Linked DNA regions of Homo sapiens: regions 2, 3 and 4 are each linked to region 1. The links are contacts of gene promoters, found by promoter capture Hi-C in blood cells and fetal thymus (Javierre and others, 2016). All regions are on one chromosome and are shown on one strand. The core of a region is centred on a gene start or on the middle of the fragment in contact, and the rest is flanking DNA. Distances in the headings are between cores, read along the strand shown. Region 1 holds the start of CCDC17 (coiled-coil domain containing 17). Region 2 overlaps MAST2 (microtubule associated serine/threonine kinase 2). Region 3 overlaps MAST2 (microtubule associated serine/threonine kinase 2). Region 4 overlaps MAST2 (microtubule associated serine/threonine kinase 2).

What was found. The method cuts DNA at HindIII sites, captures the fragments that hold promoters and counts their contacts. A CHiCAGO score of 5 or more calls a contact.
Region 2: a contact is called between a fragment that was not itself captured here and the fragment with the promoter of CCDC17 in region 1, in 1 of 17 cell types (M0 macrophages). The highest score is 5.1, in M0 macrophages.
Region 3: a contact is called between a fragment that was not itself captured here and the fragment with the promoter of CCDC17 in region 1, in 3 of 17 cell types (megakaryocytes, endothelial precursors and M2 macrophages). The highest score is 9.0, in megakaryocytes.
Region 4: a contact is called between a fragment that was not itself captured here and the fragment with the promoter of CCDC17 in region 1, in 4 of 17 cell types (M0 macrophages, megakaryocytes, endothelial precursors and 1 more). The highest score is 6.9, in M0 macrophages.

Annotation. Positions count from the first base shown.
Region 1 is chr1:45,622,191-45,625,906 of GRCh38, forward strand. CCDC17 (coiled-coil domain containing 17) reads right to left here and starts at 1,864. Exons shown (of 13, transcript NM_001114938.3): 1 at 1,546-1,864; 2 at 1,367-1,462; 3 at 1,027-1,249; 4 at 765-927; 5 at 561-644; 6 at 359-477; 7 at 51-158. The coding sequence starts at 1,719. The HindIII fragment of the contact is 6,664 bases long and covers 966-3,716 here.
Region 2 is chr1:45,813,233-45,816,756 of GRCh38, forward strand. The region is part of intron 1 of MAST2 (microtubule associated serine/threonine kinase 2); the gene reads left to right. Among named protein-coding and RNA genes, the nearest start is that of MAST2, 11 kb to the left of the region's middle. The HindIII fragment of the contact is 1,637 bases long and covers 1,263-2,899 here.
Region 3 is chr1:45,864,908-45,868,488 of GRCh38, forward strand. The region is part of intron 3 of MAST2 (microtubule associated serine/threonine kinase 2); the gene reads left to right. LOC105378694 (a long non-coding RNA gene) reads right to left here. Exons shown (of 5, transcript XR_001738038.2): 5 at 2,977-3,064. Among named protein-coding and RNA genes, the nearest start is that of MAST2, 63 kb to the left of the region's middle. RefSeq lists a silencer at 2,830-3,124. The HindIII fragment of the contact is 3,271 bases long and covers 1-3,054 here.
Region 4 is chr1:45,848,837-45,852,163 of GRCh38, forward strand. All of the region lies in intron 3 of MAST2 (microtubule associated serine/threonine kinase 2), which reads left to right. Among named protein-coding and RNA genes, the nearest start is that of MAST2, 47 kb to the left of the region's middle. The HindIII fragment of the contact is 3,137 bases long and covers 1-2,859 here.

The DNA of each region.
Region 1 (3,716 bases), core at 614-3,113:
CTGCTGGGGAGAGATAAGTGGGATGGGATAGGGTTGGGGTGCTCACTGACCCAAGGGTGCCCGACCCCTCTGCATTTGCAAGGCCAAGATTTCTGCCTCCAAGCGCCGGTTTTCAGCCTCCACTACTGGAAGCTCCCCTGAGGTGGCACCTGCCCTTCCTGCGATGAACAAGTGTGACCTGTCACCTTTGACCTCTGGTGACTGGCCGCGTCCGGCTGTGAGCAGCTCTCCAGCGCTAAGGCTCTTCGGATAAGGCTGGACTTGTCAGCTCACATGCCATCCACAGCCACAGGCCCTCCCTCGAGTTCTTTTCTCCTCCCAGGACTGACCACCGCTGGCGAGAGGCCCTCCTGTTCACCTCTGCGGGTCTGCGACCGCTGCAGCTCCAGTGCAGACGCCTCCACCTGCAACTGCCATATCTGGCCCAGCACGCCGGGGTCCCGGCCCCCGTCTCGAATGTAGGCCTCCCGCAGCGCCCTAGGGAGTGGGGAACAGGAAGGCCGTCTTTCCAGAACTGCTCAGCGCTTCGCCCTATGCCCATCTCCGGCCCCGGCTCTCACCGGATTTCGGCAGCCAGAGTTCCCGGGTTGGCCTTTTGCACTGGAGAATAAAGTTCTGCCTCTCGCCGGGAGCTCAGCGGGTTCCTGGGGTGGCAGGCGACGCGCAGGGAGACGGTAACGCATCAGAGGCCCCGGGGCTGCAGCCAGCCCGCCCCTCCCACCCCGGAGCCGCATGTTCCGGGGATCCGCTTAGTCGGGTCTCACCCTGGCTCCGCCTGCAGCTCCTGAATGCGGGCCCCCAACACCTCTAGAGCTCCCCGCGTCCTCCCGGCCTCAGCTTGTAGTTCTCGAATCTCCTGCTCCAGGCCGAAGAGGCGGGACATCCCGCCCCGCGTACAGGCCACAACTTGGAGGCGTCGGCTCAGTTCTGAGGGAATGCGGGCCGAGTCAGAACCGGCCCGAGCAAGCTTAAGCCAAACGGCGAGGGCAGAGGAGGTCCTTGGTCCCCGTCCCCCATCTCCTTCACCCTCGCCGCGTAGCTGCAGGGCCCGGCTCTGCGCTTCCATCTCCGCCACGCGCCTCGCGCGAGTCCTGAACAGCGCCCGCAGCCGCTCGCTGGGGCTTCCCACCGCCTCGGACATGGGACTCTGAGGCCGCGCCTCGGAACGTGTCCAGGGCCCCGCGAACACCCTGGGGACCTCTGTTATCCAGGGCCGCATTTCCTGTAGGGATAGCCGCAGCCACTGCACCTGGAGGTAACAGCGATCCGCGATCTCTGCGTGGGCAGAATCTGTCCCAAGTATGATCTACAGGTTTGGGGAAGACGCTCAACGTTTTGAGCCCTGGGGGAAGGTAGGTAGCTCTACCTCCTCTGTTAACCTCTTTAGAGCAGATCTACTGGCCTGCTGGTCTGGGAGGCCCTGGGGTTCTTGTGGCACGCCCTGGTGTTCTTGTGGCACAACCTGGGGATAGGGTGTAGTAGGATGAGGAATCATAAAGGTCCTGGCTCCTTTGAATCCCCACCCATGGCCATGGAGGCCCTTACCGCGGCCCGCTGGGGTTCAGTGGCAACTGATGCCTGTGCTCCAAATGTCATCTCTTGGGTCGGGTGGCCAATGCAGAAGCGCTGAGTATGGGTGGCTAACAGAGCTGAGGAGCGGAAAACCATGTCACAGGTCCCACAGGGCAGGAGCGCAGGCTCCCCAGAGTGGGAGTCCATGGGATGGGACCCGTTTCCTGAAACCAGCCAAGACCTGCAGAAGGGATCAAGGGCAGGGGAAAGGCAGAGGAGGATGAAAGAGACATAAAGCCAGAGGCAGAGAGGAAAGGCCGTGTCTATTAGGTCTGTGAGATCTTCAAGTTTGTTTGGGGAGAGCCTTAGCTCCCTGGACAGCAACCACAGGGCTGGGCAGGTCAGGAGAATGGGTGGGGAAACCTCGGCCGTTTGGGAGGAGCCACTGGCTTGAAAAAGTGTTACAAAGTCTGAACGTGGGCAAGTCTCTAATTGTAGCTTGGTTTCCCTGACTATTAATAAAGAGGAAAAAGCAGCTGCCTCCTAGACTAGGCTGGGCCCTTATCACTTACTACATCATTGGTCATTTAATAGCCTCTAAAAGGCAAGTGTCATCTTTTTCATTGCTGTACTCCCAAGTGGATGTAACAGTTTGTACCATTCTCCAATCCAGAGAACTACCTGGCAAAGGAGGCACTCTGACCTTTCCAGCATTCTGCCTGGAAACCATGTCGCACCAGGGATAGCAGTCTCCCTAACTCCCATTCCCTGATTCCTCATTTTTCAGCTGTAGACGAAGATAATCAGCACAGCCCAAGAAATGAAAGCTGTGGGCGAACAGAATGAATCTATCAGATGAGGGAATCAAGTCCAGAAAAAAACCCCTTCTCTCTCCCAAGATTGGCCAGAAGCCAGAAAGACCCTGAACTGTTGGTGAAATTCTTCACTCCACTCCCACTCCCAAAATATATGGAGGAGCTCTGAGGTGACCGCATATTTCTTAAGAAACCCTCTTTACTTTTTTTTTTTTCTTTTTGAGATGGAGTCTCGCTGTCGCCCAGGCCGAAGTGCAGTGGCGCGATCTCAGCTCACTGCAATGAGCTCTGCCTCCTGGGTTCACGCCATTCTCCTGCCTCAGCCTCCCAAGTAGCTGAGACTACAGGTGCCCACCACCACGCTTGGCTCATTTTTTGTATTTTTTAGTAGAGACGGGGTTTCACCATGTTAGCCAGGATGGTCTTGATCTCCTGACCTCGTGATCTGCCCGCCTTGGCCTCCCAAAGTGCTGGGATTACAGGCGTAAGGCACTGCGCCCGGCCAAGAAACACCCTTTTCTCTTCTTTTTTTGAGACAGTCTCGCTCTGTTGCCCAGGCTACAGTGCAATGGCACGATCTCGGCTCACTGCAAGCTCTGCCTCCCAGGTTGACACCATTCTCCTGCCTCAGCCTCCCCAGTAGCTGGGACTACAGGCACCTGCCACCACACCCGGCTTTTTTTTTTTTTTTTTTTTAGACGGAGTCTCGCTCTTTCGCCCAGGCCGAAGTGCAGTGGCACTATCTGGGCTCACTGCAAGCTCCGCCTTCCGGGTTCAAGCCATTCTCCTGCCTCAGCCTCCCGAGTAGCTGAGACTACAGGTGCCCACCACTGTGCCCGGCTAATTTTTTTTGTATTTTTAGTAGAGATGGGGTTTCACCGTGTCAGCCAGGATGGTCTTGATCTCCTGACCTTGTGATCCGCCCGCCTCGGCGTGCCAAAGTGCTGAGATTACAGGCGTGAGCCACTGCGCCCAGCCTTATGCCTGGCTAATTTTTTGTATTTTTAGTAGAGACGGGGTTTCACAGTGTTAGCCAGGATGGTCTCGATCTCCTGACCTCGTGATTCCCCCGCCTCGGCCTCCCAAAGTGCTGGGATTACAGGTGTGAGCCACCATGCCTGGCCGAAACTCCCTTTTCTAAACAAGACAGGGACTTAAGACATTTCCCTACTCAGTACCTAAAGCCAAGGTATGACCCACCAGCAGCAAGTTACAAAGTGTTCAAAGTATGTCATCTCAGTTCAGCTTAATTCCAACTGACATAAAGAGTACATTTTTAGAAATATGTTCTCAGAAAACAAGTAAATGGCAAAGCCCAAATCAAAACCTCCTTTTCAACAACTAAGTTTGTCCCAATTTTCAATGGTTAAGACTTTTGACTGGTTGACT
Region 2 (3,524 bases), core at 831-3,330, 190 kb after region 1:
TTTTCTTTTTCTCTGCATACAGTCATGTTCCGCATAATTATGTTTTAGTCAATGATGGATGACATACAAGATGGGGGTCCCATAAGATTATTATTATTATTATCATTTTTTTTTTGAGACCGAGTCTTGCTCTGTTGCTCAGGCTGGAGTGCAGTGGTGCGATCTCAGCTCACTGGAACCTCTGCCTCCTGGGTTCAAGCAATTCTCCTGCCTCAGCCTCCCAAGTAACTAGGATTACAGGCAGCCGCCACCACGCCTGGCCAATTTTTTTTTTTTTTTTTTTGAGACGAAGTTTTGCTCTTGTCCCCCAGTCTGGAGTGCAGTGGCACGATCTTGGCTCACTGCAACCTCTGCCTTCCGGATTCAAACAATTCTTCTGCCTCAGCCTCCCGAGTAGCTGGGATTACAGGCTTCTGCCACCACACCTGGCTAATTTTTATATTTTTAGTAGAGACAGTGTTTCACCATGTTGGCCAGGCTGGTCTCGAACTTCTGACGTCAGGTGAGCCGCCCACCTCGGCCTCCCAAAGTACTGGGATTATAGGCATGAACCACTGCGCCTGGCCAGATTATAATTTTTTTATTAAAATTTTTTTTTAAATAGAGATGAAGTCTTGCTATGTTGCCCAGGCTGGTCTTGAGCTCTTGGCCTCAAGCAATCCTTCTGCCTTGGCCTTCCAAAATGTTGGGATTATAAGCATGAACTATTATGCCTGGCTTCCCATAAGATTATAACAGAGTTGAAAAATTTCTATTGCCTAGTGACATCTAGCTATTACAACATTGTAGTGCAACACATTACATGTTCATGGTAATGCCTGTGTAAAACCTACTGCACTGCTGTGGTATAAAGGTACAGCACATAGAGTTAGTGCATGCACAGCACATAATACCTAATGATGATAATATACAACTATGTTACTTGCTTATGTATTTACCATACTATACTTTCTACTGTTATTTTAGAGTGTACCCCTACTTATTAAAAAAAAAAGTTAACTGTAAAACAGCCTCAGACAAGTCCTTCAGTGTAATTCCAGGGAAGGCATTGTTACCATAGGAGATGACAGCTCCATGTCACCTCCATTATTGCTCCATTATTGCCCCTGAATACCTTCCCATGGAACAAGATGTGGAGGTGGAAGACAGTGATATTGATGATCTCGACCCTGTGTAGGCCTAGGCTAGTGCGTATGTTTGTATCTTACTTTCTAACAAAACAGTTTAAAAAGTAAAAAAAGAAAATTTTTTTAATAGAAGAAAGCTTATATAATAAGGATAATGAAAGAAAATATTTTGTATAATGTAAACACATACACCAAGGCGGGTGTATCACCTGAGGTCAGGAGTTTGAGACCAGCCTGGCAAACATGGCAAAACCCCGTCACTACTAAAAATACAAAAATTAGCCCAGCGTGGTGGCGCACGCCTATAGTTCCAGCTACTTGGGAGGCTGAGGCAGGAGAATTGCTTGAACCCGGGAGTTGGAGGTTGCAGTGAGCCAAGATCACGCCATTGCACTCCAGCCTGGGCGACAAGAGCGAAACTCTATCTCAAAAATAAAAAGAAAAAGCTATCTTGACCTTTGATTTGTTGGTGTTATTAAACTGTTCTTTTATTTTATTCAGCTTGAAAGGAGACTTTAATTTGTGCATTTTCCCCTTCAGGGAAACTTTTATGGATTTTTTTATTAAGTAACTGGCTTAGAAGATAGAATAGTCTCCCTAGGTTTTAGAATGTAATTAAGAAAAATTCAGCCCAAGGGAACCATGTGTTAAAATTAGGTGATACCATCTTAGTTGTACCAGCTTGAGTGTAGGTTCCTTAAGAGTGAACCTGAGTAGTAGATGCATATATCCTTTAACCATTAATTTGTTGGAGATTAATAAGCTACATCGTTTCTTTGCCGTTATTTCAGCAAAGCAGAAGTAATATAGTTTTGTCAGATCTTCTTTTTTTTTTTTTTTGAAACTGTCTCCCAGTCTGGAGTGCAATGGCGTGATCTCGGTTCACTGCAACCTCTGCCTCCCAGGTTCAAGTGATTCTCCTGTCTCAGCCTCCTGAGTAGCTAGGACTACAGGCACATGCCATCACACCCAGCTAATTTTTATGTTTTTAGTAGAGATGGGGTTTCACCATGTTGGGCAGGCTAGTCTTGAACTCCTGACCTCAGGTGATCCACCCTCCTCAGCCTCCCTAAGTGCTGGGATTACAGGTGTGAGCCACCGTGACTGGTCAGACTTTCTATCTGTTAGGCTTTCAGGAATGTTTTGAAAAGCAGAGGATTTAGAAATAGTTGTTAATAGTTTTTTTTTAAAGTCCTTAAGTTATTTCATAGGGGTGTTACCAAGGTGATTTTTGTTTAAATGACCCAGGAACATTTAAGTTCTACCTTTAACCAGTAAGAGAAAGTGATACTTTGTGACTAGCTCAGTCTTTGGTCTTTTATATTAAAGAACATTACTTGCTGTAACTGATTCACAAGGACCCCTTGATTGAGGTGCTTCCATTTTCTACACATGGCTTCCAAGTTCAGCTGAGGAAAGTGGAGGATGGGCCAATCCTAGAAATGGATTAATCACTTCCACTCATATTCCATTGCCAGAACTCAGTTTCAGGGCCATGCCTAACTACTGGAGGGCTGGGAAATGTCATGTGGCCTGTGCCTAGGAGGAAGGTGAATCATGCTTGATCAACATCTAACTAGTCCCTGCCACAGGACTCAAACCCCAATGTAGTCCTTAGCTTAGAACCATACAGAAATCCATTTATTTTGGTTATAGACAGCCTGGAACCATAGCCTCCTCTTTTTCCTTGTAGACACACAGAGTTTTGAGTTATAACAATTTTGAATGCAAGTAAAGGCCTTTTTCCCAAGCACAGATAGGAGATCTGGAAAAGCTTTTCTGCAGCCTGTGGCAGAGGTAGTCTCTGGCAACCCCAAGAAAGGCAGCTTGGTATTGGGGGTGGGGGGGAGAGAGAGAGAGAAAGAGAGAGAGAGAGAGAGAGAGACCCAAGTCCCTTCAAATACCTGGAAAGTCTTCCCAAGAATAACAGATGCAAACAAGCCCAGATCGCAAAGGCTACAATGTATATTTAACTCTTCAATGCCCAGACACTGACAAATACCCACAAGCGTTAAGACCATTCAGGAAAACATGACATCACCAAACAAACTACGTAAGGCACCAGGGACCAATCCTGGAGAGATAGAGATACATGACCTTTCAGACAGAGAATTCAAAATACCCATTTTGAGGAAATTCAGAGAAATACAGGATAACACAGATAAGGAAATCAGAATCCCCTAAGGTAACTTCAGCAAAGAAATGGAAATAATTAAAAAGAACCAAGCTGAAATTTTGGAGTTGAAAAATGCAGTTGATATACTAAGGAATGCATCAGAGTCCTTTAATAGCAGAACTGATTAAGCAGAAGAAAGAATTTATTTATTTATTTATTTTTTGAGATGGAGTCTCGCTCTGTTGCCCAGGCTGTAGTGCAGTGGCGTAATGGCTCCCTGC
Region 3 (3,581 bases), core at 169-2,668, 240 kb after region 1:
ACTTCTGTGAAGAAAGACGTGATTCTGATATGAGGCAGTGATTGTATACTTACGCTGGACAGAGGGATAACTGGTTTAGTGGAACAGTGGGTTAGTGGTGTGCTGAAAGGATTGTTTGCCTCTTTATCCAGCAGTAAGTAGGCACTAGTAGTTGACTGTCTGGGGAGTGGCTTTTTTTTGTCTGATATCTATTATGGATGATTCCAGTATTCTGAGAAGGAGAGGGTTACAGGTGAGTAAAAGAAAACCTTTTTCACTGATCTCCTTCCTTTTAATGTCTCTTGTAAATGTACTGAACAGATTGTTATAATGTATTTAATTCATTTGAGGTAGGAGGCAGAGTGGAGTGCAGCTAAGTTCCTCTTTATTCTTTGATGTATAGTTATAATTAGAGAACTTATCTAAAATCTTGCTATTTTGATAGAAAAATGCTGCTTGGGCTTATTTACACTGTATTTAGTGAGTAGAGCAACTAAATCAGACCTGTATGGGATACAAGCCTAATTTAGAACATTAGACATTACTGCTGACAGATTGTTTACGGTGAACATATTCTGTTCCTGACCACCATGCCTGATCTGCCCACCATTAAGTCACATGTATGGTAGTATATGCTTGATTCTATGCATAGTTTTAAGAACTTTTCTAAATTATCACTTGGCATATACACATTCCATCCACTTATCTATTGTCTGTCTGTGTTGTCTGTCCATCCATCCGTCTGTCTGTCTACCTACCTACCTACCTACCATCTTTTCCTTCTTAAATCATAGGTAGTTTGTTAGATGAAGAGGTATGTAAGATATAACAGTGAATGAAAATAGACTGATAGGCAACCTTCAACTGAGTTTTAATGAATATCCTTAGCACTAAAAGAATACATGCCAAATTTGATGATTATTTTTTTCATGCTTTGTAGATTATCTCATCTTAGTCTTGTTAGCAAAGAGCAAGCCAGCTTCTAGTCTATCACTAAATGTTTTTGAGAATTGACATAATGAAGATTCTAGTGTAAATCACTGAGCTAATCAATCAACCTGTGATGGTTTAGTCATGAAATGTAGCTATTTCTGTTGTTTTCATTTTGTTTATTTGACATTATTTATAAAGCACTTTTTTTGTACAAAATACCTAAGGATTTTAAAATTATCATGAATTAACATTATTTTAGTTTCTTTAAAGTTCTCAGGTAGAAAATGTATAGGATTAGTAAACTTAAAATATAAATTTAAACAAATTGTATTGTTTCTAGTTATTATATGTACTTCTTATTGATGGTGCTGTAAACATTCAGAGCCCGTAGGGAGAACCCACTGAATCTTTAGCAGTTGACCAGTATGACCTGGGCTTTAAAAGTCAATAACATAAACTCCAGCGCCTTATACTAATTTCTCCTGTTAGCACAGTTGATTCGATGAGATTTGTCCCTTGATTTCTTGGGGTTATTTTGAGTAGTATTTATTTAGTACTGTACTCAGATGACCTCTCATAAGTAGTGATGTATGTTCAAGCAGCTGCTAATTAAAAATGGCTGGCTCTGTAAGCCCATTTAGTTGCACTGCTTATTTATATCTTTATTTCTCTTTAGTTGCTAGGATTCAGAAAGGGAATCCTATTTGTTGAATGGGAAATATTTTCTGTTTTGTGTTAAATCATTCATTTTCTCCCTGATGCCTGAGTCAGTCTCTAGTATTTGCTACCTTGTTTACTGATGCCCTTCCTCTCGAGTCTTTGTTTCTATCTAGCAGGAGTTCTAAACTGCCAGATTACATAGCACTGGAAGATCTTTTCCTACAGCCTTATACTTATAAAAAATTTTTCCCCTATTTATTTTGTCTACTTTTTTTTTTTTGAGATGGAGTCTCACTCTGTCACCCAGGCTGGAGGTGCAGTGGCGTGATCTTGGCTCATTGCAACCTCTGCCTCCCAGGTTCAAGTGATTCTCCTGCCTCTGCCTCCGGAGTCGAGTAGCTGGGGCATTACAGGCATGTGCCACCACACCTGGCTAATTTTTTGTATTTTTAGTAGAGACGGTGTTTCACCATGTTGGCCAGCCGGGTCTCAAACTCCTGACCTCAGGTGATCCACCCGCCTCGGCCTCCCAATTGCTGGGATTGCAGATGTGAGCCACCGCACCCAGCCTATTTTGCCTATTTTTAAAAAATAAACTTTAAGGTTCATTCTCCAGAAGATTGCTTTGGAACATTCCAAAACAGAGCTAACGCTTGAAAAGCAGCAGTTTAGATTATTTGTTTTAAATAGTTACATTATAATATAAAGATTTAAAGGTAAGTTTTATTAATAGATTTATATAAATAAACACACAAAGGTAAAGTGTGCCTGGTGGTACAGGTAATCTACTGGGTAACCTCAGATTTGAAGGTGAAAATCCAAATAAATATTTGGCTTCGCTAATTGCTTTCTGGTGAAATAGATTTCCTAAAACTTTTCCAGAAGATCAGCTAAGACACAGCCTACTTTGATACCTCCAGGTTTTTCCGCAGAGTTTCTTGGGGAGGTAGCAGAATAGTAAATAGGGCATTTAGAAGTTCCGTGACAGCAAAGACCTTGTCTATTTTGTTCAAATTACAGTTCTGCCATGTTCTAGTCATATAACCACAGCCAAATTTCATTTCATTTCTGTACTCCACTGGTATATTGAGAGTAGACAGTGGAGGCAAGGGCTGCAGCAAAAAGACCAATTATGAGACTGTTGTGGTCAAAAAAAGCAAGAAATAATAACAGATTGGAGGGGTGATAGCAGTGGACGATGTGGAGGACTTTCTTATTGGCCATTTTTACAGATACGTGAAGCTCAGTAGCTTCCTCAAGGACAGACAAGTAGGTGTATGGCCAGGCTAGATGTATAGGTTAGGGTACTCTGAACTACAAGTAACAGAAATTTTGACTCTGAGTGGTTTAAATGTTAGGTAAATGTATTGACTCACAACAATGAAGTCCAGAGGTTGGATGGGTTTCAGAGTTGGGTAGTCTGGTGTATTTGCTCAGCTTCATTGCTCTTTTGCCTTCCTCTGTGTTTTGGCCTCATTCTCAAGCTTGCTTCCTATGTGTTAGAAAAAGAACTGTAGCAGTTTCAGTCTGCACAGTCACACACTACAACATCCCTACATCTTAATGGTAAAAGGACATCTGGGAGATTATGTGTGAGCATCTTTTCTTTACACTGGAGGAGCCTCTGTCGGTGTAGGAATTGACACTGTTTTGCTTGAAAAGCTGTTCAAGTTGGGTCTTTTTTGTGGTAAAAATTGGCTTTCATCTTACATCTACTTTTGAAGCATCTACACATGGAGAGACATTTGAGATTGAAGTTCCTTGTGAATTGAAGGAGGTGCTTTTATACTTGCCCTGTTTCCCAATCAACTTTATGGGGGATGATTTTAACTTTGAAAGGTCAGGGACTAGCCACCATAAGCAAATTTTTGTTATCAACTCTCTTAGTGCCATAATTTCCACATTATTTGCCCATAAGGCACATATAGTAATCTGTCTTCATTGTATAGACAGTGCAATTTCCCAGGTTCTGAATTGAAAATATTTGTTGTGCTGATAAAATTATTGCC
Region 4 (3,327 bases), core at 41-2,540, 230 kb after region 1:
ATCTTGGCCCAAAAGCTCCTTCAACTGATAAACAAATTCAGCAAAGTTTCAGGACACCAAATTAACATACAAAAAACCACTAGCATTCCTATCCACCAACAACAGCCCAGCTGGGAGCCAAATCAGGAAGGCAATCCCATTCACAATTACCACAAAAAGAATACAATACCTAGGAATACTGCTAACCAGGGAGGTGCAAGATTTCTACAATGAGAATTAGAAGACACTGCTCAAGGAAATCAGAGAAGACAAAAACAAATGAAAAAACACACCATGCTCATGGATAGGAAGACTCAATATCATTAAAATGACCATACTGCCTAAAGCAGTTTACAGATTCAATGCTATTCCTATCAAACTACCAAGAACATTCTTCACAGAACTAGAAAAAACGATTTTAAAATTCGTATGGAACCAAAAAAGAGCTTGAATAGCCAAGGCAGTCCTAAGCAAAGAGAACAAAACTGGGGGCCTCACGTTACCCAACTTCAAACTGTACTATAGGGATACAGTAACCAAAACAGCATGTTACTGGTACAAAAGGCACATAGATCAATGGAACTTTATTTCCGGCAGAAATAAAGCTGCACACCTATGACCATGTGATCTGTGACAAAACTGACAAAAACAAGTAATGATACTGGGATAACTGGCTAGCCATATGCAGAAGATTAAAGCTGGACCCCCTCTTTTCTTTTTTTTTTTTTTGAGATGGAGTCTCTCTCTGTCACCCAGGCTGGAGTGCAGTGGCGCGATCTAGGCTCACTGCAAGCTCCACCTCCCAGGTTCACACCATTCTCCTGCCTCAGCCTCTGGAGTAGCTGGGACTACAGGCGCCCGCCACCACACCCAGCTAATTTTTTGTATTTTTAGTAGAGATGGGGTTTCACCATATTAGCCAGGATGGTCTGGATCTCCTGACGTCGTGATCTGCCTGCCTCAGCCTCCCAAAGTGCTGGGATTACAGGCGTGAGCCACTGTGCCCCGCCCATATTTTCTTTATCTAGTCCACTGTTGATGGGCACCTAGGTTGATCCCATGTCTTTACTATTGTGAATAGTGCTGTGATTAACATGTGAGTACATGTGTCTTTTTGGTAGAATGATTTGTTTTCTTTTGTATATTTACCCAGTAATAGGATTGCTGGGTTGAATGGTAGTTCAGTTTTAGGCTCTTTGAGAAGTCTCCCAACTACTTTCCAGAGTGCTAAACTAATTTACATTCCTACCAACAGTGTATACGTGTTCCCTTTTATCTGCAGTCTTGCCGGCATCTGTTGTTTTTTTGCTTTTTGATAATAGCTATTCTGACTGGCATAAGATGGTATCTCATTGTGGTTTTGATGTGCATTTCTCAAATGGTTAGTATGTGGAGCATGTTTTCATGTTTGTTGGCTGCCTGTATATCTTCTTTTGAGAAGTGTCTGTTCATGTCTTTTGCCCATTTTGTGATGGGGTTGTTTTTTGCTTGTTTAATTGTTTAAGTTCTTTATAGAGTCTAGATATTAGACCTTTGTCAGATGCATAGTTTGCAAATATTTTCTCCCATTCTGTAGGCTGTTAACTCTACTGATTGTTTCTTTTGCTGTGCAGAAACTCTTTAGTCTAATTAGGTCCCACTTGACAATTTTTGTTTTTGTTGCAATTGCTTTTGAGGACTCAGTCATAAATTGTTTCCCAAGGTCAGTGTCTGGAATGGTGTTTCCTAGTTTGTTTGTTTGTTTTTTCCCTAGGATTCTTACAGTTTGAGGTCTTACATTTAAATCTTTAATCCATCTTGAGTTAATTTTTGTATGTGGTGAAAGGTAGGGTTCCAGTTTCATTCTTCTGCATGTGCCTAGCCAGCTATCCCAGCACTATTTATTGAATAGAGTCCTCTCCCCATTGCTTATTTTTGTTGACTTTGCTAAAGATCAGAAGATTGTAGGTGTGTGGCTTTATTTCTGGGTTCTCTATTCTGTTCTATAGGTCTATGTGTCTGCTTTTGTACCAGTACTATGCTTTTTTTTTTTTTTTTTTTTAAACACTGTAGCCTTATAGTATAGTCTGAAGCTGGGTAATGTAATCCCTGCAGCTTTGTTCTTTTTGCTTAGGATTGTTTTGGCTATTTGAGCTCTTTTTTGGTTTCATGTAAATTTTAGAATAGTTCTTTCTAGTTCTGTGAAAAATGACATTGGTAGTTTGATAAGAATTATGCTGAATCTGTAGATTGATTTGGACAGTATGGCTGTTTCAACAGTATTGATTCTTCTAATCCATGAGCATGAAATTTTTTTCCTTTTGTTTGTGTCACCTGTGATTTCTTTTAGCAGTGTTTGTAGTTCTCCTTGTTGAGATCTTTTACCTCCTTGGTTAGATGTATTCTTAGGTACTTTTTCTTTTTCTTTTTTTTGTAGCTATTGTAAATGGGACTGCATTCTTTACTTGGCTCTCAGCTTGAATGTTACTGGTATATAGAATTGCTACTGATTTTTGTACATTGCTTTTGTATCTTAAAACTGGGAAGCCATTTATCAGTTCCAGGAGCCTTTGGCGGAGTCTTTAGGGTTTTCCAGGTATAAAATCATATTGTCTGCAAAGAAAGATAGCTGGACTTCTTTGCTGTTTGGATGCCTTTTCTTTCTTTCCTTTGTGTGATTGCTGTGGCTAGAACTTCCAGTGCTCTGTTGACCAGCAGTCAGGAGAGTAGACATCCTTGTCTTGTTCCAGTTCTCAAGAGGAATGTTTCCAGTTTTTCTCATTCAGCATGATGTTGGCTGTGGATTTGTCATAGGTGGCTTTTATTTATTTTGAGATATGTTCCTTGGATGCCTAGTTTGTTGAGGGTTTTTATCATGAAGGGATGGTGGATTTTATTGAAAGCTTTTTCTACATCTATTCATCTGACTTCCTTTTTTCTGCTTGACCTAATAGAAAAAATTTTCAGCCCTACTTGAAATGAATTACCTGAGCTGAGGGACTGAGATTGCTGCTGGCAAATAGAATTAATGGACTATTTTTTAAAGAGGGCAAAAAGCTCCAAACAGAAACGTTTCTGAGATGTGTTGGGGCATTTTGGGAATAAAGTAACATGCATTTATAGGGAGATACTAAAATGAAAATATAGGAATTTCCTTTTTTTTCAGTTATTTAGCCTTTAAAAAAATACTTATGGTTGCATAGGAAGTTGCAAAAATAGTGCAGAGTACTATGAACCCTTCACCCAGCTTTCACCAATAGTGTCATCTTATATAGCTATAATACAATATTAAAACCATGAAAATGACATTTGTACAATATCATTAACTAGATTATAGCCCTTATTTGGTCTTTATATACACTTGTATAT